Linked DNA regions of Homo sapiens: regions 2, 3, 4, 5, 6 and 7 are each linked to region 1. Evidence: promoter capture Hi-C in 16 types of primary human blood cells and fetal thymus (Javierre and others, 2016). All regions are on one chromosome and are shown on one strand. The core of a region is centred on a gene start or on the middle of the fragment in contact, and the rest is flanking DNA. Distances in the headings are between cores, read along the strand shown.

What was found. Contacts are between HindIII fragments. The CHiCAGO score rates a contact against its expected background, and 5 or more counts as called.
Region 2: a contact is called between a fragment that was not itself captured here and the fragment with the promoter of ZNF225 in region 1, in 4 of 17 cell types (non-activated CD4 T cells, total CD4 T cells, activated CD4 T cells and 1 more). The highest score is 11.7, in non-activated CD4 T cells.
Region 3: a fragment that was not itself captured here is called in contact with the fragment with the promoter of ZNF225 in region 1 in 2 of 17 cell types (naive CD8 T cells and non-activated CD4 T cells); the score reaches 8.9 in naive CD8 T cells.
Region 4: a fragment that was not itself captured here is called in contact with the fragment with the promoter of ZNF225 in region 1 in 5 of 17 cell types (naive CD8 T cells, total CD8 T cells, total CD4 T cells and 2 more); the score reaches 9.0 in naive CD8 T cells.
Region 5: a fragment that was not itself captured here is called in contact with the fragment with the promoter of ZNF225 in region 1 in 7 of 17 cell types (non-activated CD4 T cells, naive CD8 T cells, activated CD4 T cells and 4 more); the score reaches 25.3 in non-activated CD4 T cells.
Region 6: a contact is called between a fragment that was not itself captured here and the fragment with the promoter of ZNF225 in region 1, in 1 of 17 cell types (activated CD4 T cells). The highest score is 8.0, in activated CD4 T cells.
Region 7: a fragment that was not itself captured here is called in contact with the fragment with the promoter of ZNF225 in region 1 in 3 of 17 cell types (non-activated CD4 T cells, naive CD8 T cells and activated CD4 T cells); the score reaches 5.7 in non-activated CD4 T cells.

What each region holds. Positions count from the first base shown.
Region 1 is chr19:44,111,817-44,114,746 of GRCh38, forward strand. ZNF225 (zinc finger protein 225) reads left to right here and starts at 1,583. Exons shown (of 5, transcript NM_013362.4): 1 at 1,583-1,753. It overlaps ZNF225-AS1 (ZNF225 and ZNF224 antisense RNA 1), which reads right to left and starts at 1,367. Exons shown (of 2, transcript NR_033341.1): 1 at 1,006-1,367. RefSeq lists a silencer at 1,294-1,644 and an enhancer at 1,337-2,036. The HindIII fragment of the contact is 4,811 bases long and covers 786-2,930 here.
Region 2 is chr19:37,380,949-37,383,711 of GRCh38, forward strand. The region is part of intron 4 of ZNF527 (zinc finger protein 527); the gene reads left to right. Among named protein-coding and RNA genes, the nearest start is that of ZNF527, 11 kb to the left of the region's middle. The HindIII fragment of the contact is 4,583 bases long and covers 1-2,763 here.
Region 3 is chr19:37,458,840-37,461,690 of GRCh38, forward strand. All of the region lies in intron 2 of ZNF569 (zinc finger protein 569), which reads right to left. Among named protein-coding and RNA genes, the nearest start is that of ZNF569, 7.2 kb to the right of the region's middle. The HindIII fragment of the contact is 7,320 bases long and covers 1-2,851 here.
Region 4 is chr19:37,168,352-37,171,216 of GRCh38, forward strand. It overlaps ZNF585A (zinc finger protein 585A), which reads right to left. Exons shown (of 5, transcript NM_001288800.2): 2 at 1,488-1,703. The coding sequence starts at 1,559. Among named protein-coding and RNA genes, the nearest start is that of ZNF585A, 2.9 kb to the right of the region's middle. The HindIII fragment of the contact is 601 bases long and covers 1,000-1,600 here.
Region 5 is chr19:37,475,613-37,478,411 of GRCh38, forward strand. It overlaps ZNF570 (zinc finger protein 570), which reads left to right. Exons shown (of 5, transcript NM_144694.5): 3 at 269-395; 4 at 727-822. Among named protein-coding and RNA genes, the nearest start is that of ZNF570, 7.7 kb to the left of the region's middle. The HindIII fragment of the contact is 1,736 bases long and covers 571-2,306 here.
Region 6 is chr19:37,682,982-37,685,815 of GRCh38, forward strand. It overlaps the pseudogene ZNF781. Among named protein-coding and RNA genes, the nearest start is that of ZFP30, 29 kb to the left of the region's middle. The HindIII fragment of the contact is 8,365 bases long and covers 1-2,834 here.
Region 7 is chr19:37,364,021-37,366,848 of GRCh38, forward strand. It overlaps ZNF875 (zinc finger protein 875), which reads left to right. Exons shown (of 5, transcript NM_001353803.2): 5 at 1-427. Among named protein-coding and RNA genes, the nearest start is that of ZNF527, 5.7 kb to the right of the region's middle. RefSeq lists a silencer at 1,414-1,614. The HindIII fragment of the contact is 524 bases long and covers 1,232-1,755 here.

The sequences.
Region 1 (2,930 bases), core at 333-2,832:
TTTGGGTGATAAAAATGTTTTGTAATTCAAGAGGTGGTGGTTTCACAATGAAGCAGCTACTTTGTCTGAGGTTTAAACCCGGGGTTCGTCGTTAAGCGCCAGAAAAATTTAGGACACGGACACACAAAAACTCCTCAGTTTAGGAGCGGAGGTTTAATAGGAAGAAGAGAAAGAGAAACGGGTTCCTCCATAGAGGAAGGGGTCTCCGAGCGGAAAAGGGTCGGCTGGCAGTGAATGTGCTGAGTTTTACAGACCAGTTTGAGGAGGCAGTGTCTGATTTACATAGGGGTCATAGATTGGTTCGATCAGTTATGACGTTTACATAGTGCGTGGGGAAGGCTGGTCGCCCCACCCTAATCTTCTTATGCAAATAGGCTTCCCAGTTGATTGGCCCATCTTGCCAGCTTCTTACTGTGCACGTGGCTGACAAAGAGAAGGGAAGATGGAGCCGCCATCTTTAACATGATTGGCACAACTGCTGGTATCTATGTCTGCGGCAGCTGGATTTTACAGGCTGCTCTTCCTTAGGAAGGGAAATAATTTGGGGCTGCTTTTCATTAAAAAGAAAAGCCTTACCGAGGGCTCCCATACCCTATCTGCCTAAGTGATGGCTTCTTAACTCGTATATATTAACAACACTGTATTCGTACTAGATGCCATTGCCATTGAATTATGTGCCTTAAAATAATTTTGTTTTGTGAATTACACCTCAAAAATATTTTTTAAATAATAAAACGACCACGTTAAAAACGTTTTGCATAGCGAAAAACAAGTCAAAGGAAAAAAGCTTTTTGGTTGAGCAATATTTGATACAATGTTAATATGAGTATGTAAATAATACTTAACGGAGGGGAAAAAACTAAACACTCAATAGAAATGTGGGCAAACTATTTGACCAATTCACAAAGACTATAATAGTGGCAACGGAAAATATGCACGGATGTTCCACTTTATTTACAAAAGAACAAATACAAATTAAAACTACATTTAGAAACCATTTCTTACCATTAGATTAGCAAAACTTAACTCCTCGAAGACTGTGTCTTCTCGCTTGTTCCCTTTCCAATAACACTCCTGTTATCATTGGAGGCGTTTAGACTTCAGAAATTCCTGTCTATTCAGTATTTTCTGTCCTGGACCAGGGAGAGAGAAGGACGACTCTCAGGATAACAGTTCACATTCCCCACTAGGCAGGCGCTCGTGGCTTTGGGATTCGTTCCCAGTGGGCACCTCGGAGTGGCAACGCTTCCCCCTGAAGAATGAGATTTTGAGCGTTTTTCCTTCAGCATTCGGAGGAGTGTAATCCAAATGCTCTGTGGAGTCGTACACACTGGCTCCAGAAGGAGGATACAAGCAATTCTGGGAATGGTAGTCCAGACGCTCAGTGGAGTAGCGGTCAGCTTGGCTCCGGCAGGCGAATCAGGGGATTTCTGGGAAATGTAGTCCAGACGCTCAGTGGAGTCTCGGTCAATTTGACTCCGGCAGGTGGATCCCAGGGAATTCTGGGAAGTGTAGTCCAGACGCTCGGGGTCGTCGCGGTCAGTTTGTCTCAGGAATTCTGGGAAGTGGAGTCCAGACACTCAGTGGAGTAGCGGGCCACTTCCGCTCCGTTACTGTGAGGTTGCTGCAGTTTTGTCCCTGGTAGTTTGGGTCAGTTCCGCGAGACCCTTCTGAATTTCCTGGACCTACGCATTGGATCCTTAACGAACTGGTGATCGAATTAGGGGAAAAGAAACCTCGTCGGAGAGCAGAGGTTTGGCGGAGCGGGGCCGCTGTTTTCGTTCTCGTCAGTGGAGCCTTCTTGGGCTTGGGGCTCTCCTCGCGTCCCCGGGGTGTTTGGGACTTGGTCGGGTCGCGTCTCGCCTGGTTTTAGGGTCTCCGGGGCTCTGAGCTCGCCCACTCGGCCTCCCTGCACCCCACGCGCGTGGCCACTTCCTCGCGATAAAACGCTGGGATGTTACTTAATCTCCTTGGGTCTCCCGTTACAGTTCTTTAAGATGGGGAGTTTAGGACCATCCTAATAGAATCGTTTTGGGAACTGAAAGCGGTAACACAAATGAGAGCCTTAAAGCAGCCCCTGTCACTTGGTGACTGGTGGTCTCTTGTTAATTTCCCACGAAGCCTGTCAGGTCCCCGGGTGGGGTGAAACTCCAGCTGCAGGGGCACCGGCCCTTCTCCCTGATTCCTGCAAGACGCTGGGTGATCCCGGACGCCTTCTGACCTCTCTTTTAGGAAGGCGAGGGTTGCATCCACTTCCAGGAGGGGAGAGGAGCATTTAACTTTTATGGGGCACGGCGACCACGGTCAGAGTGTTTCACAGCCTTCTCCTTACCCAGCCCGACCTTTCCAAAAGAGCTGCAGGGAGGGACTTCTTGGCTTCTGAGGGCAAAGCTCTACGTGAGTGATCCTTGGCTTTTTTCTTTGACAGAGATGCTCACCCCAACCGAGAGTGTATAGGATGTGTCTTCGGGCATGGGTGTTGCTTTCAGTTGTCATGTTTTTCTAGTCTTTAATCTTGAAAGATAGCATAGCTTTCATCGTTTTTTCTTGGTATTTTATCCTTGTTATTTTTGAAGAGTATAGATGAAGTTATTTTGGTCAAAGATGTTCATTTGGAGTTTTTCTGATGTATTTCACGTTTAACTTCAAAATATGCATTTTTTGCTGGAATACCACAGAAGTGGTAAATCTCTCTCTCTCTTTTTTTTTCTTGAGACGGAGTTTCGCTCTTGTCGCCCAGGCTGTAGTGCATGGCACGATCTCAGCTCATTGCAACATCCACCTCCTGGGTTCAAGCTATTCTCCTGCCTCAGCCTCCCAAGTAGCTGGGATTACAGGTGCCTGCCACCACATCCGGCTAATTTTTGTATTTTTAGTAGAGAAGGGATTTCACCATGTTGGCCAGGCTGGTCTCAGACTCCTGACCTCAG
Region 2 (2,763 bases), core at 190-2,689, 6.7 Mb before region 1:
TATTCGGTATCTTCTTATAAGAAAATAAGGAGTTAGCACTTTCTTCTCCTGAATCCAACACATAAGGCACACACACAAATACACACATTTCCCATCCCCTATCTTATCAATGTCATCATTTTGATTAAGTCACTATTCAGCATTTATTTTATTATGGCCATTTAGTGCTAGTCATAGCTGTGCTGTGCATATGGCAAGTTACTTTTTCTCTACTCCTTTTTATTTTTCCTGGAGTTAATAATGACTTGGGAATTTTGTTTGTTTGTTTGTTTGTTTTTGCTCAGTTTATATATACATAACCCTAATCCAGTTCCCGACTTACCATCAATTGTCTGAGTCTTTCAAGATACTTGGACATATTAGGTGATCTATCCACTTCATCTTCTTGGAGAAATCTCTCCTGGAATCCTCAGATACGCTTCACTCTACACAAATGGCTCATTATATTTGCATGCACTCAATTTGGATCTATCTGATTTATCTGATATTTTCTCATAATTAGATTGAGGTAGTGCATTTTTGCAAAGAATGTCACAGAAATAATGTTGTATCTCTCTCAGTGCATCATTCCAAAGGATGTATAATATCGATATGTCTTATTATCGGTGATGTTAACTTTGCACACTTAGTGAAGGTAGTGTCTGCTTGGTTTCTCCATTATAAAGTTCTTATTTTTCTATTTGTAGTTAATAAATATCTTGGGGGAGATACTTTGAGATTATTCAGTTTCTTCTGTAATTTTTGCCCATTTATTTTAGCATTTATTGCTGGATCTCTTCAACTATTATTACTGTGGTATTAACCTAATGTTGATTTGTTCCATTTCCCTCTTTTCTTTGTGTATATTAATTGGGATTGTTCTGAAGGAAGAGCTGCTCTTTCTCCTCCATTTACTTATATATTCAATTATATTTATGGATTTTTTTCCTATGAGGTAAATCTAATTTACCTCATAAAATTTAATGACTTCATAAAATTTAAATGGATTTATTTTTGGATTTATGGATTTTTATTTCTATGAAGTAAATCCAATGAATCATTATGTTTCTCAAATCGTTCCAGCTTTGAATGTTGGAATCTCCTTCACATTGGTTCCTTTGACCTTCTGACATGCCCCCATGCATTTTTTGGGCACGTCCTTCCTTCTGGCACAAGGTATTCCAGGTTCTCTTATTTTCCTTGCCCCAGCCTTGAATCAACCACTTCTCCAAGGAGCCCTCATTGCTTTATTGGGAAATGGTGTTTAGAAACCAAGCTAGGTATGCTCTAGGCTACTGGGATATCACTCTTTCTGGCCCTGACAGCAGCTAAAGCTAGGAAACAGATAGATAGATAGGTAGATAGATAGATAGATAGATAGATAGATAGATAGATAGATAGATATTTACACACACACCCCTATATTTATTTCTGCCTCTTTTTTTCCCATTTTTTATTACCTCTATCTTTTTATATACTAAAACTATCAGTTTATATTAATAACTTGATTTCTAGTCCTGCTTTACAGGGTTTATTGTAGCCTTCCTCCTTGACTTATTTGTAATTTCTTTTTCTGATAATGAGAAAAAATATATTTACCTATTTGTTCAATTTTAGTATACACATAAAGTAGTTTCAGAATTTCTAACTTACTTCTCTGTGAGAAACAAATTTACCAACTAGATTTAGGTATTTGTATATAGTACTTTTTGTTTTAGTCTTATAGTGTCCAGTCAAAATACTATTTCCAAAATTACTTAGGTTGGTTATTTCAGGTCCATTTGTTACTGTTTTTGTTTGAGATGGAGTCTCGCTCTGTCACCAGGCTGGAGTGCAGTGGGCAATCTCGGCTCACTGCAAGCTCCGCCTCCCGGGTTCAAGTGATTCTCCTGCCTCAGCCTCCCGGGTAGCTGTGACTACAGGCGCATGCCACCACGCCTGGCTAATTTTTGTATTTTTAGTAGAGACAGGGTTTCACCATGTTGGCCAGGATGGTCTCAATCTCTTGACCTCGTGATCCGTGCCAGCCTTGGCCTCCCAAAGTGCTGGGATTACAGTTATGAGCCACCATGCCCGGCCGTATATACGTAGTTTTATAAGGAATTGCTACATTCCCCTCCAGAAAAGTTGTCTGCTTAGTTTTTTTCCTGCTGTAACAAATTAGCACACATTTAGTGGCTTAATCCAACACAAATTTATTGTAGCTCTGGAGGTCAGAAGTAAAAAGTAGGCCTTACAGAGCTAAAATCAAGATGTCAGCAGCCTATATTCCTTCCTAAAACTGTATGGGAGAATGCGTTTCCTTGATTTTTTATGCTTTTTTTTTGAGATGGAGCCTTGCTCTGTCACCCAGGCTGGAGTGCAATGGCACGATCTTGGCTCACTGCAACCTCTGCCTTCCAGGTACAAGGGATTTTCCTGCCTCAGCCTCCCGAGTAGCTGGGATTACAGGTGCTCACCATCATGCCCAGATAATTTTTGTAATTTTAGTAGAGACAGGGTTTCGCCATGTTGGCCAGGTTGATCTCAAACTCCTGACCTCAGGTGATCCACCCTTCTTGGCCTCCCAATGTGCTGGGATTATACAGGTGTGAGCTACCACACCCAGCTGATTTTTTTTTTTTTTTTGAGACAGAGTTTTTCTCTTGTTGTCCAGGCTGGAGTGCAGTGGCGCAATCTTGGCTCACTGCAATCTCCACCTCCTGGGTTCAAGCGATTCTCCTGTATCAGCCTCCCAAGTAGCTGGGACTACAGGTGCGTACCACCACACCCAGTTAATTGTTG
Region 3 (2,851 bases), core at 139-2,638, 6.7 Mb before region 1:
ATCAAAAGAAATGCTAGAAATCAAAAACATATTAATAAAAACAAAGAATGCCTTCAATGGACTCATCAACAAACTCAACACAGTAGAGGAAACAATCAGTGAACCTGAAAATAGAAACTTCAAAAGAAACTTCCCAAACTAAAATGCACAGAGGAAAAAGAATGAAAAACAAAAGAGAACATCCAAACCATGGGAGAACATCCAAACCATGGGACAATATCAAAACATGTATCTATTAAACAGACATCTATTTTCCCAATTAGAAAACCAAAAGGAGAAAAAAGAGAACACAGATGAAATATTGTAAGTAATAATGTCCATGAATGTTTCAAATTAGTGACACACACCAAACCATAGGCTGAGGAAGCGCAAAGAACACTAAGCAAGATAAATACCAAAAAAAACCACACGTGTATATCATATTGAAACTGAAAAAACAACAACAAAAAAAAACAAAGAAAAGATAGTCAAGGAACCCAGAGAAAAGTAACACCTTACCTATAAAACAACACTGATAAAAATTACAGCAGACTTCTTGTCAGAAACTATATAAACAAGAAGAAAGTGGTGTGAAATATCTAAAGCATTAAATGAAAAAGAGCCACCAACCTAGAATTCTCTCTATCCAGGGAAATTATCCTTCAAAGTTGAAGGAGAAATGAAGACTTTCATTTCTAACAAAAACTAAGGGAATTCATCACCAGCAGACCTACCCTGTAAGAAATGTTAAAAAGTTATTTAGGCAGAAGAAAAACAATATAGGTCAGAAACATGGATTTACATAAAGAAAGGAAGAGCACCAGAGACAAAATCATGAAGGTAAGATAAAATCTTTTGGTTCTTTTATTAGTAATTGATCTAAAAGATAAATGTTTGTTAAAGGCTATAATGATAACAATGTATTAGGTGATTACAGCACACGGATAAGTGAAATGAATGACAGGGACATCACAAGTGACATAACAACGGAGAAGAAGGGGGAACTGGGAATACTGTTGTAAAGTTCCTGCACTACATATGAAGCAGTATAGCATTTTCAAAAGTGAATTTAGATTACTTAAAAATACACATTGAAAACTCTAGGGTGACACTAAAATTTTTTAAAAGAAGTATAAATGATAAAGTAAACAGGAGATAAAATGAAATAATATAAAATGCTCAATGAAAACCGTAGTAATCAGACAAAGGAGGGGAGAAGAGAAGAAACAAAACAAAGAAATAAAAAAATTTTCTATTTGCATACGAAGCAAATGGAAAACAGCTAGGAAGATGGTAGTGAGCTAGGAAGATGGTAGTGTTTTTTTGTTTGTTTGTTTGTTTTTGAGACAGAGTTTCACTGGAGACTCCAGCCCAGGCTGGAGTGCAGTGGAACGATCTTGGCTGACTGCAATCTCTGTCTCCTGGGTTCAAGCAATTCTCCTGCCTCAGCCTCAACTGGGATTACAGGCATGCACCACTATGCCTGGCTAATTTTTGTATTTTTAGTAGAGACAGGGTTTCACCATGTTGGCCAGGTTGGTCCTAAACTCCTGACCTCAGGTGATTCGCCTGCCTTGGCCTCCCAAAGTGCTGGGATTACACGCATGAGCCACCACGCCTGGCCAATGGTAGATGTTAATCCAACTACAAAAATAATCACACCAAGTGTAAATGGTCCAAACACAGCAATTAGAAGACAGATTGTCAGAGTGCATTTAAAAAAAAAAAAACAACTATATATGTCTATAAGAAACCCACTTTAACATTCAAGTTACAAGTAAAGAGATGAAGCTAGGCGTGGTAGCGTGCACCTGTAGTCCAAGCTATTTGCAGGGGCTGAGGCAGAAGTTTGCTTGAACATAGGAGTTCAAAGCTGCAGTGTGCCATGACTGCATCTGTGAATAGTCACTGCACTCTAGCCTGGGCAATACAGTGATACCCTGTCTCAAAAAAAAAAAAAAGTCAAGGGATGAGACTGGTGGCCTATCCTTCCCTAGAAATGAAAAAAACAAACAAAAGGCAAAACCTGTCTGAACCAGATTTTCAGAAATTCTGGGAGATAGTCAAAGGTTGCACCCAAGCAAACACTTAACAAAAAAATTTGAGCTTCAAAAAGAAAATAAGTGCAGTGATTTAAAACACATCAAATATGCTAAAAATGATGAATATATAATGGTGATAATAATAAAAACAACCCACTAGGAGATGCCAGGGAACCACTCCAATAACTCAAAATCATATAAAGGGAAATAATCCATTTATTCTGCCTTTTCTGTACAAACTGTACCTAAGGGTGAACAAAGAGTTGACGAGGAAAATTTTTTCTTTAGGAAAATATTCTAGCTAGTAAACGAAGTAATGACAGAATTAGAATATCGCCATTTTGTAGCCCTTACTGAAATAATGGGTCTAGTTAGTAATCATCCATGTTTTCTAAAACCGGTATAGTGGTAAGAAGAACTGTTCTATTTTTAAAACATATGAAAAATATCCTCTTTTTTTTTTTTTTTTTGACAGAGTCTCACTCTGTCAGGCTGGAGTACAATGGCGTGATCTTGGCTCACTGCAACTTCCGCCTCCTGGGTTCAAGCGATTCTCCTGCCTCAGGCTCCAGAGTAGCTGGGACTACAGGTGTGCGCCATCATGCCCAGCGAATTTTTGTATTTTTAGTAGAGACAGGGTTTCACCATGTTGGTCAGGATGGTCTTGATCTCTTGATCTCGCAATGTGCCCACTATGGCCTCCCAAAGTGCTGGGATTACAGGCATGAGCCACCATGCCCAGCCCATCCTTCTATGTCTCACCTTACTTCCTCTAATATTACAACCCAATAGTCCTTCAGCCCTGTCAGGAGCTTCCATTCCTTGATTCT
Region 4 (2,865 bases), core at 50-2,549, 6.9 Mb before region 1:
ACTCATGGTGTTCTCCATGGCGCTACACAAAAATAATCTCTTGGAACACCAACAGCAAACAAGACCAATCTCTGACCACCATGGTGGAAGACAAAACCAAGACCACTCTGTCATTATACTTGAGCACAGACAAAAATCACAATCTTCTTCAAACCATAAAAATCTCCTTACTCTGCATAAGGAAAGTGACTGCCAATTATACCTTTACCAATTATAGCTTTTGCTTCAATCTACCCTTCATATTTTCTAGGTAAAAATGATTAAGATACCCAATCATAAAATTTCCCAATAGGAACAGAAGTAGAGGTTCAGTGAAATTCAGCTAGAAGATTCTTATTACCTGTGACTAAAACCAGAAATGAAATTCTACTACAACTTACACATGCAACAGAAAGGAAAGACATGAGAAGAATGCCTACTGCTACATAGTTCATAATATGAGCTGTATTTTACCAAACAAATATTTAAAAAGCAATGTGTGAAAATTTAGTCTACTATGGCACCTTTTGTGAAATAGAAAGAAAAAAATGTGTACTTGTTTTTACTTGTTTATAGAACTAAGCAATCAAAGAAAAAGAATAAAATCGGTCCTGTATGTTGAGAAACATGGGGGTAGGTGGGGAACGGAGGTGGGTGAATCACAGATCCATGTTTCCCCTGAATTTGTTTCCTATAACACTTTTCAGGGTGTGTTGCCTTTAAATGCATTTCTAATTGTTTTTAATTTTTATTTTTTACTATTATTCCCATTTTACCAATATTATTTTTGAACGAAGTGTATATATTCCCTATTCAGAAAACTAAACTTTCCTAATACACTATCACAATATCTCCAGAGGCATAAGAAATAAAATTATACCCATGAAATAAGAACAAGATGCTAATCAAAAAGAATATTTAGAAAATAAATTACAGTTATTAAAAATTAAAACGTTGAATTAAAATGTTGATAGTGGTAACGAGAAACTCAAAAGAAGGGCTGGAAGGCAAATGTGACAAAGCTTCCTGAAAAAGAGAGCAGCAAAGAAATAGAAAACAGTAGAGGGAAAAAAATGGAGAACCAATATCCGAAAAACAGAAATGTAAAAAAAAAAAAAAAAGAAAGAAAGAAAATATTTGTGTTTGAGGAGGCAGTTTAGGAAGAAACAAGAGAAATACTTTGAAAATCCCACAGAAAAGTGACTTCTAACCAGGAAAATCTATCCACAGCCCAAAGATCAATGTAGTGTGATGACAAAATAAACAACAGTTTTTCTTAATAGTCCACCTCTCCACTGTCGCACAGATGGCCTCCAGAGACGAAGACATTACCCACATGTTGCTCATTCTCAACAGGAAGATCAAGATTTGTTTCAGGAGCAGCAGGTCTAGAGTCCAGCTGCTTCCTGTGGCCCAGCTCCCTCCCTCAGTCATGAGGTTCTAGTGACAGACCAGAGATACCTAGTCCTGGATTGAATTCCCACCCCCCTGGGACTCCTCCTTCTCACCTCATAGGAGCTGCCATGATCCTCTGGAGCCAGGGCTGAGGATTTCTGAGGTGAGGTCCAATTAGCTGGCATGGCCACACTGGGTCTCAACCCTTTTTCTGTAGGGTGTCTGAAGCTTGGCAGTCATCTGTGAACTCAAGCAGAGCTGCTCTGAAGAGATGGGCTGGAGTCTAGAGGAAAATCTGGCCCAGGGGCTCCCCAGAGACACCCAGAAACCTGGAAAGACAATGTTCCCATAGTCAGTCATTTCACATTCAACACATAAGCACTTCCTGGATATATCAAGGTGCAGGTCCCTGAGCTAGAAACCAAAGCAGTGGTTCTCAAATGGGTATGCATTCAAGTTACCTGGAGGACCTGTTAAATGAAACACAGTTAAAAATTCTCAGCCTACTCCACAGTTTCTGATTCAGTAGGTCTAAAGTAGAACCCAAAAAGTTTCGTTTCTAACTGGTGCCCAGGAAACGCTGATGCTGTCAGTACAGGGACCACACTTTGAGAACCAGCGCTGAGGAGAACATAAAATTTAACAAAATCTGTGATAGGTATTAGTTACGGTGAAATATGGGAAAAGTCATGAGAGATGGAGTAATGTTACTGCAGATTTGAACTGCAGCTCTGACACTTTTCACCTATGAGAACAGAAGTTTCTTCACTTTCTTTTGAGACGGAGTCTCGCTCTGTCGCCAGGCTGGAGTGCAGTGGTGCGATCTCGGCTCACTGCAAGCTCTGCCTCCCAGGTTCAAGCAATTCTCCTGCCTCAGCCTCCCAAGTAGCTGGGATTACAGGCATGCGCCACCATGTCCAGCTAATTTTTGGTAAAGACGAGGTTTCACCATGTTGGCCAGGATGGTCTGGATCTCCTGACCTCCTGATCCGCTCGCCTCTGCCTCCCAAAGTGCTGGGATTACAGGCGTGAGCCACTGCGCCCAGCCATTTCTTCACTTTTAATTTCAGAAATGAGGATGAAAATGCTTATCTCAAAGTTACAAAAATTAAATGAGATAATACTTGTAAAGTACTCAACACCTCCCAGGCACACAAAAATCATACAATACATATCAGCGATTACCATGCATTATCAGATATTAAAACAATATAAAAACAATGTAATAAAAACAAGTAAAACAATAAATATACCAGACAATATTGATCTATATATGTGATAAAAGTGGTATTCAAATGAGTGTGCATAAGACATTCATTGCATAAATGGCAGTGATATAATGCAGTGATATAACTGGCTGGCCACCTGGAAAAAAACAAACTAGATCTCCATCACACACTATTCAGTAGGCAAATGCCAGCAGGACTGATCACTTAATTATGTGTATTTGTTAAATCACAAAGACTATTAAAATAAATTTTAGAAGTATAC
Region 5 (2,799 bases), core at 189-2,688, 6.6 Mb before region 1:
AGTTGAGGAGGGTGAAGAACAGGCAATGAATAAAATAATTAAGTGCAGTGGAGAAAAATAAAGGAGGGTTAGGAAATAGGGAATTGGGGTGGAAGCAGTGCTATTTTATACTGGAATAATCTGAGATATACAAAGGCCCTGAGTACAAATATGATAACATGGTTACATATTTGAGGATGTAATATCAGAGAGAGCCCAGTGTGCCTAGGGCAGAGGAAATGAGGTGAATATGGTAAGAGATAAGGTTCTTCCATTTATTTCATTTCAGGAGTTGGTGACCTTCAGAGATGTGGCTGTAGACTTCTCCCAAGAGGAATGGGATTGTCTGGATTCTTCTCAAAGACATCTGTACAGTAATGTGATGCTAGAGAACTACAGGATCTTGGTATCACTGGGTAAGGATATCTTCTTGCAAAACTGAGCTTCTGCTCAAAAGGGGCTCTTTGCTACCACTATTGTGAATTTTTGGATAATATCTGCAAAATTTGGCTGAATGTCTGCTGCCTATGCCAAACAAATGGCTTAGTGTTTGTGGATTTGGCAGTGAACATATTCTTGGCCTGTGCCTGAAGCTTCATCTTCCTTATCCTTCTAATACATGTCCTTTACACATTTCTCTTTTTGCTTACTGTAAACTCCCTTTTCCCTGATGAGCTAAGGATTGAATGTGAGTTCTGGAATATCCACAGCATGACAAAACTCTACTTTTTTTTTTCGTATTTGCAGGACTTTGCTTTTCCAAACCAAGTGTGATATTATTGTTGGAACAAGGAAAAGCACCCTGGATGGTGAAGAGAGAGCTGACAAAAGGCTTGTGCTCAGGTTAGTGAAGAGGAAATTGGCAAAAATCTTTGCACGTGACAGCTCAGCTTGACTCAAAGGTATCACCTCTTCACTCTTCAGGCTTCCAAATTCTTCTCAAATGTTCTAGGTTTTCATAAAAATTTGGGGCCATTTAGGATGTTCTCCCACATTTGTTATTTTTAATTATTTCCCTTCTCTTACTTTCCTATCTCCTTTCTAACAAGTCCCATCCCCTCTCAGTTTCATAAGCCTCTCAGTCTTTAAAAAATCTTGTAGTAGTCTTATAAACTTTTTTTTTTTTTTTTTTTTTTGTGACAGAGTCTCGCTCTGTCACCCAGGCTGGAGTGCAGTGGTGCAGTCTCGGCTCACTGCAAGCTCCGCCTCCCGGGTTCAAGCAATTCTCCTGATTCAGCCTTCCCAGGAGCTGGAATTACAGGCACATGCCACCACGCCCAGCTAATTTTTGTATTTTTAGTAGAGACAGGGTTTCTCCATGTTAGGCTGGTCTCAAACTCCTGACCTCACGTGATCTGCCTGCCTCAGCCTTCCAAAGTGCTGGCATTACAGGCATGAACCACTGTGCCTGGCCTCTTATAAATTTTTGAGCTCTACAGAGCATCAGAAGTGTAGGCAGCCTTGGGGACTGAGTCCTCAACCTGAGGGATCTGATGCTATCTCCAGGTAGACAGTATCAAAATAGAGCTGAGGTAGAGGACACCCACTGCAGAATTCATTGCTTGCTTGTTGGTGGAGAGAAACCCCCACATTCAGTCACAGAAGCCTTCTGTGTTTATTGTTGTGGTGCGAGAGAAAAGGAAAAACAGGTTGCATGTGTGATTTTTCCTAAGGTGCTCATTGTGGGGGAGGTTGTCGTGTGTGTGTGTGTGTGTGTGTGTGTGTGTGTGTGTGTGTGTGTATTTGTAACTTTTTTTTTTTTTTTTGAGACAGAGTCTCGCTCTGTTGCCCAGGCTGGAGTACAGTGGCATGATCTCGGCTCACTGCAACCTCTGCCTCCTGGGTTCAAGTGATTCTCCTGCCTCAGCCTCCCCAGTAACTGGAACTACAGGCACCCACCACCACGCCTGGCTAATTTTTTTGTATTTTTAGTAGAGACGAGGTTTCACCATGTTGGCCACGCTGGTCTCCAACTCCTGATCTCAGGTGATCCGCCAGCCTCAGCCTTCCAAAGTGCTGGGATTACAGACGTGAGCCACTGCACCCAGCCTGTAGCTTATGTTTTTGATACTTTAAGAAACCTTTCTATGTTCTGAGTTCATATAGATATCTGAAAATAGTCTTTTAAAGATTGTCCTTTTATATGTAGGTCCATAATCCAATTGGAACTTATTTTTGAGGATTATTTTAAATAAGAATTTAATTTCTGTATCTTATGGAAAACCAAAGGTCCCAGATATTTTTTGAATAAGTGTTCCCTCTGCCTGTTTTTCTGAATGTTACCTCTTAATATACCAGGTTTTAGTCTATATATGGGTTTGACTTTAAGCTTTATTCAGTTTCATTGATCTCTGTTTCCTTATACCAGTACCACACTGTCTTAATAAAAATAGTTTATTAGAAGGATAATTATCTGCTAGGGAAAATCTCTACAGCTTGTTTAAATTCTTTAGAATTTCTTGTTTGCCCTTTGGACATCAATATAAAGTTTAGGGTCAACTTGTAAATTTCTATCAGAAAACAACAAAATGCTGTTAACTTTTGATTCAAATTTTAACTTTTGATTCAAATTTTATTTATTCTGTAATCAATTCTGGAAATTTTAAAAATTCATTAACATGGTATAGCTCTCCATTTATTTAGGTTTTTTCACTTTTTTCAGTGTTTTATAATTTTCTCCAAAAAAGGCTTTGCACATCTTCTGTTAGATTAAATTGTAAACATTAAACATATTAGTTTTGTTGCTGTGTTAAATGTTATCTATATTTTCTGTTTGTTGCTCATATATAGAAATGAAATTAACTTCGTATGCATTGGCCT
Region 6 (2,834 bases), core at 230-2,729, 6.4 Mb before region 1:
ACAGTAAGCTAAAGTTAATTTATTATTGAAGAAAAAAATTTTCACATATTTAGTGTAGCCTAAGTATACAGTGTTTCTAGTCTATAGTGGGGTATGGTACTGTCCTAGCCTTCACATTCACTCACCATTCACTTACTGACTCACCTAGAGCAACTTTCAGTCCTGCAAGCTCCATTCATGGTAAATGCCCTGTACAGGTGTACCATTGTTTACTTTTTATACCTTTTTTTTTTTTTTTTTTTGAGATGGAGTCTTGCTCTTGTCACCCAGTCTGGAGTGCAATGGTACAATCTTGGCTCACTGCAACCTCCGCCACCCAGGTTCAAGCGATTCTCCTGCCTCAGCCTCCCGAGTAGCTGGGATTACAGGCACCTGCCACCACACCCAGCTAATTTTTGTATTTTTAGTAGAGACGGGGTTTCGCCACGTTGGCCAGGCTGGTCTCGAACTCCTGACCTCATGATCCACCTGCCTTGGCCTCCCAAAGTGTTGGGATTACAGGCGTGAGCCACTGCGCCTGGCCTATACCATATTTTTACTGTACCTTTTCTGTATTTAGATATATTTAGATACATAAAATCATTGTGTTGCAACTATCTACAGTATTCAGTACAGTAAAATTCTATACAGGCTGGTGGCCTAGGAGCTGCAGGCTATACTATATAGCCTGGGTGTGTAGTAGGCTATCCCATCTAGGTGTATGTAAGTCCACCCTCTGATGTTCACACAATGATGACATCACCTAACAACAACATTACCTAACAACAGAAGAATGTATCCCTGTTCTTAGGTGACGTCTGACTGTATATCTAACATTAAAAGTTTATTTACAAAAATAAACTTTATTTACAAAAAAACTTTATTTAAAAATTACATGGCATAAGGCCGGGTGGAGTGGCTCACGTCTGTAATCCCAGCACTTTGGGAGGCCAAGGTGGGCGGATCACCTGAGGTTAGGAGTTCAAGACCAGCCTGGCCAACATGGTGAAACCCTGTCTCTACTAAAAATAGAAAAAAAATTAGCCAGGCATGGTGATGGGTGCCTGTAATCCCAGCTATTCGGGCGGTTGAGGCTAGGGGAATTGCTTGAATCCAGCCAGTGGACGTTGCAGTGAGCCGAGATTGCACCACTGTACTCCAGCCTGGACGACAGAGAAAGACTTAGTCTCAAAAAAAAAAAAAATTACATGGCATAACGCTTACGACACAAAATCTCTTTATCTCCAGAGTTTCTATGTATTCAAGATGGTTTTCTCATAAAACAGCAGAGGTTACTGTGGTCAGAATGTCACCTTCCCATGAGCCCACAAGGAAAAGCATCTGTGTTTCGCTAGTTCCTGTCACACTTTAATCTATTTCTGTATAGATTATATGTCCCTTGCTAGATTGAGAGAAACTTAACTAGGGCTTTCTAATCACTTCATTTCTCCCAAGTATTAGCACAGAATCATTGATATTCCTGGCATTAATAAATGCTTAATATTTTACCTAAAAATTCTATACTTGGGAAGTTATCAATAAACGAAACCTAGAAAAGTGCAAAATTTAGTGAACACAAGAATATATCACAGAACAGTTACATGACAGATGACTGCACTACCATTAACAGCTATGACCAAACATTTTAAGTAAAAAGGAAAGATATACGTGACGAATTACTACGTAAGGGGGCAGGTCTTTAAAAGAACCTATAATTTGGCTGGGAGTGGTGGCTCATGCCTGTAATCCCAGCATTTTGGGAGGCTGAGGCGGGTGGATCACGAGATCAGGAGATCGAGACTATCCTGGCTAACACGGTGAAACCCCGTCTCTACTAAAAATAAAAAAAAATTAGCCGGGTGTGGTGGCGGGCACCTGTAGTCCCAGCCACTCCGGAGGCTGAGGCAGGAGAATGGCGTGAACCCAGGAGGCGGAGGTTGCAATGAGCTGAGATAGCACCACTGCACTCCAGCCTGGGCAACAGAGCGAGACTCCATCTCAAAAAAAAGAAAAAAAAAATAGAGATTGAGACCATCTTGGCCAACATGGTGAAACCCTGTCTCTACTACAAATACAAAAATTAGCTGGGTGTGGTGGCATGCGCCTGTAGCCCCAGCTACTCGGGAGGCTGAGGCAGGAGAATTGCTTCAGCCTGGGAGGTGGAGGTTGCAGTGAGATCGCGCCATTACACTCCAGCCTGGTGACAGAGTGAGACTCCGTCTCAAAAAAAAAAAAAACAACTATAATTTTAGAAGAGCATATAACACAATAATTTAAAATGCAGCTCAGAGGCCAGATGCGTTGGCTCATGCCTATAATCCCAGAACTTTGGGAGGCCAAGGGGGGCAGATCGTTTGAGCCCAAGAGTTCGAGACCAGCCTGGGCAACATAGTGAGGCCCTGTCTCTACAAAAAAAATACAAAAATTAGCCATGTGCAGTGGTGCACACCTGTAGTCTTAGCTACTCGGGAGGCTGAGGTAGAAGTATCACTTGAACACAGGAGGTCGAGGCTGCAGTGAGCTGTGATTGTACCACTGCATTCTAGCCTGGGTAACAGAGCAAGACCCTGTCTCAAAAAAATAAATAAAATAAAATAAAATGCAGCTATGCTTATAGATGCCTGTGATGTGACTCTTGATAAGTGGATTTTTAGAAAGTCACCAAATGAAGAAACAGAGAGCACACCGGAGAAGAGCTCAAGTGAAGCCAGACTGCCTGGTTTGCACTCCAGTTCTGCTGTGCACCAGCTTGGGCAAGTTACTTCACATCTTTGTGTTAAATATTCTAGCACATGAATGGAGAAGAATGTTTCTAGTTCTTTCCATTTGGGAGGCACAGATTGTTTGTAAGGTCA
Region 7 (2,828 bases), core at 244-2,743, 6.7 Mb before region 1:
AAACCCGGTCAGGTAATGATAGTGGCAGGAGGCAGTCAAATGCCCAGGCAGATAGGGGTGGGTACCTGGTGAAACCCAACCTTAAAGCTGAAGACAGTCCCGGCTAAATCCTCATACTGAATTGAGAACCTGTCTTCCCATTTGGTGTGCTTTCCTCCGATTGATCCCAACCCTTCACCTATTTTACGTATACCTGCCCTTTCCTAATTGGTTTTTACACTGCTGTGCCCACCTTTTGAGTGGTGCCTTTGCATACTTACAAATCAGTCAACGTGTATTCCCCTATTCTGAGCCCATAAAAGACCCAGACTCAGCTGCAGTGAGGAGAGAAATCACCCTGCTGTGGGGGTTGGGGACCACTCCCTGCATCCCCTCTCCACTGAGAGCTGTTCTTTTGCTCAATAAAATTCTTTTCTACCCATCCTCACCCTTCAATTGTCAGTGTATCCTCATTCTTTTTGGACTCAGGACAAGCGCTCAGAACCACTAAACATGGGTATAAGCTATAATACAGGCAGGCCAAGAGGGCAGGGCACCTCCAGCAGCAGGCCCAGGGCTAAGTGAGATCCAGGCAGAGGGCTGTCGCTGGCTGTGGAGGTCCTCAGTTGGCAATGTGGCTGAGAAAATTCCTGTGTCAGTAACTTGACGGAGAAAGTACTTTTAAATGGGTTGAAATTAGGAAATGAATACTATTCCAGTGTCATTTTACAGGTACACTGGAACATTCCTTCCACTGTACCCTGGATGTTACAGAAACTATTGCGGGAATGAAGGAGGACCAGAGAGACCATGGGGTGAGACAGGAGGATTTATTTATTTATTTTTTTGAGACAGAGTCTCGCTCTGTCACCCAGGCTGGAGTGCAGTGGCGCGATCTCGGCTCACTGCAGGCTCCGCCCCCCAGGTTCACGCCATTCTTCTGCCTCAGCCTCCCGAGGAGCTGGGACTACAAGTGCCTGCCACCTCACCCGGCTAATTTTTTGTATTTTTAGTAGAGATGGGGTTTCACTGTGTTAGCCAGGATGGTCTCGATCTCCTGACCTCATGATCCGCCCGCCTCAGCCTCCCAAAGTGCTGGGATTACAGGCATGAGCCACCGCGCCCAGCCGACAGGAGGATTTATTGAGTGCACTCAGACCCAGAGGATTAACATCCAAAAACTGGGCCCAGAACAAAGACAGCATTTGACTTTTATACACACTTCTCAAAGTGGGTGGGCTAACTTGAAACAAGCTTACAGTGGTGCAAAACGTAGTGGTGCAAAAGCCAGGATACAGAGGCAGAGCAAAGGCAGTTAATCAAATTGTGACAGGTGTATAACTCAGGATTACATATGACCCTTGCTTATGCAGCCCAGATGGCTGTTATCTAGGCTTGCTCAAAAGAGCCTTGCATGGGCTTATCTCATAACCTTTGCTATGGTGCCCAGATGGCTGCAGCCCAGGCCTGCCTCAGGCATGTCTTAAAACTTTCACTGTGCTGCTTAGATAAAACAGAATACTTGAAGTTAACTAGTTACAGAAAACAGGAATCTATAACCTCATAAAACTTGCAGAGCAAGGTACAATCACACGGAGGGAGGTGGGATTCGAGGGGGATCTTTACTTTTTCTTATCCTTATGTTGAGGGAGTGCTGGGAGAGTCTCCAGAGCACATTCCTTCAAGCCTTTGCTTCTTTGATAATGTTATCGAGACCTCGCCTGGGTCCAGGCTTTGCCTGCTACCGCCTTTAGGATGAGTCAGCCTAGTATGGAAAGCTTATTTTTCTCTTTTTAAATTTTATTTTCTTCTTTCTCTAATTTCTGCCTCAAGACAACAATACTAGAGCTTGTCTTTTGATGTCCATCTGTCCTAACTGGGAACAAGAGACTTGGAAGACACCGTGGCTGATTTACTATGTGTTCCCCAGACCATGACCCCACAGAGTCAGCCTCAGGGGAGAGTTTGGGGAATGGTTAATTCATGGAGACAGGGATAGTCCATGGGTAGAAGAGGGTTTTATTATATCTAGGTGACTGCAAGTATCCTAGCTCTAGGTTTTAGGAAGAGGTCCATTTTTAAAAATAACTTTGCTTAAGCCTTTTGGGGTTTTGTCTGGTTTCTGGGTTGAATCCACATTGAAGATATTTTTATTGACTGATGTATTTAGACTAGAAGTGTATTGTTGTTTTATTTATAAAACACACAATATGCAGAAATAGAAAATGAAATTAATTTCTATTCTCCTTTGAATTACCAAACAACATCCTACAGGTAATTCTTGAGTTTAAATATTTCCAACCATTGTAAAATGTACCATTCTTCTGGTTGGGAACATATATTTTTTAATGGCAGTGTTCAACAAATTAACTTTAAATACTAGGTTAGGTCCCAGTTTGTTTGTTTTTTGTTTTTTTTCATGGAACTAGACTGAATGATTCTGAATTTTATTTGGAAAATAAAATTTCCAAGAATCATTAGGAAAATATAGAAACTATATAGTAACATGTCTTGTTCATATATAAGTTTTTAGAATAGCTCTTTAGAACCATATTTTAAAAAACAGAAAAACAAACCCATCCATATATGAGCATTTTGAATGCGATAAAGCAGGATTTCAAATCAGCGTGAAAATGGCAATCGTAAGATTCAGTGTTTGTGTTGTTGGCTATCAATTTAGGGAAAAAATAAATGTAGATTTATTTGTTTATCCAAAGGAGTTACAGTTAGGGCATCACTGTCCAAAATGGTAAGAGATGTTAGGATCTTAATTTTTGTTCAACATCTAAGTGAGTGAGTAGAGTTAGAAGATCTGGTAAAAAATTATGAAGTATTATCCTAGGTGGAGT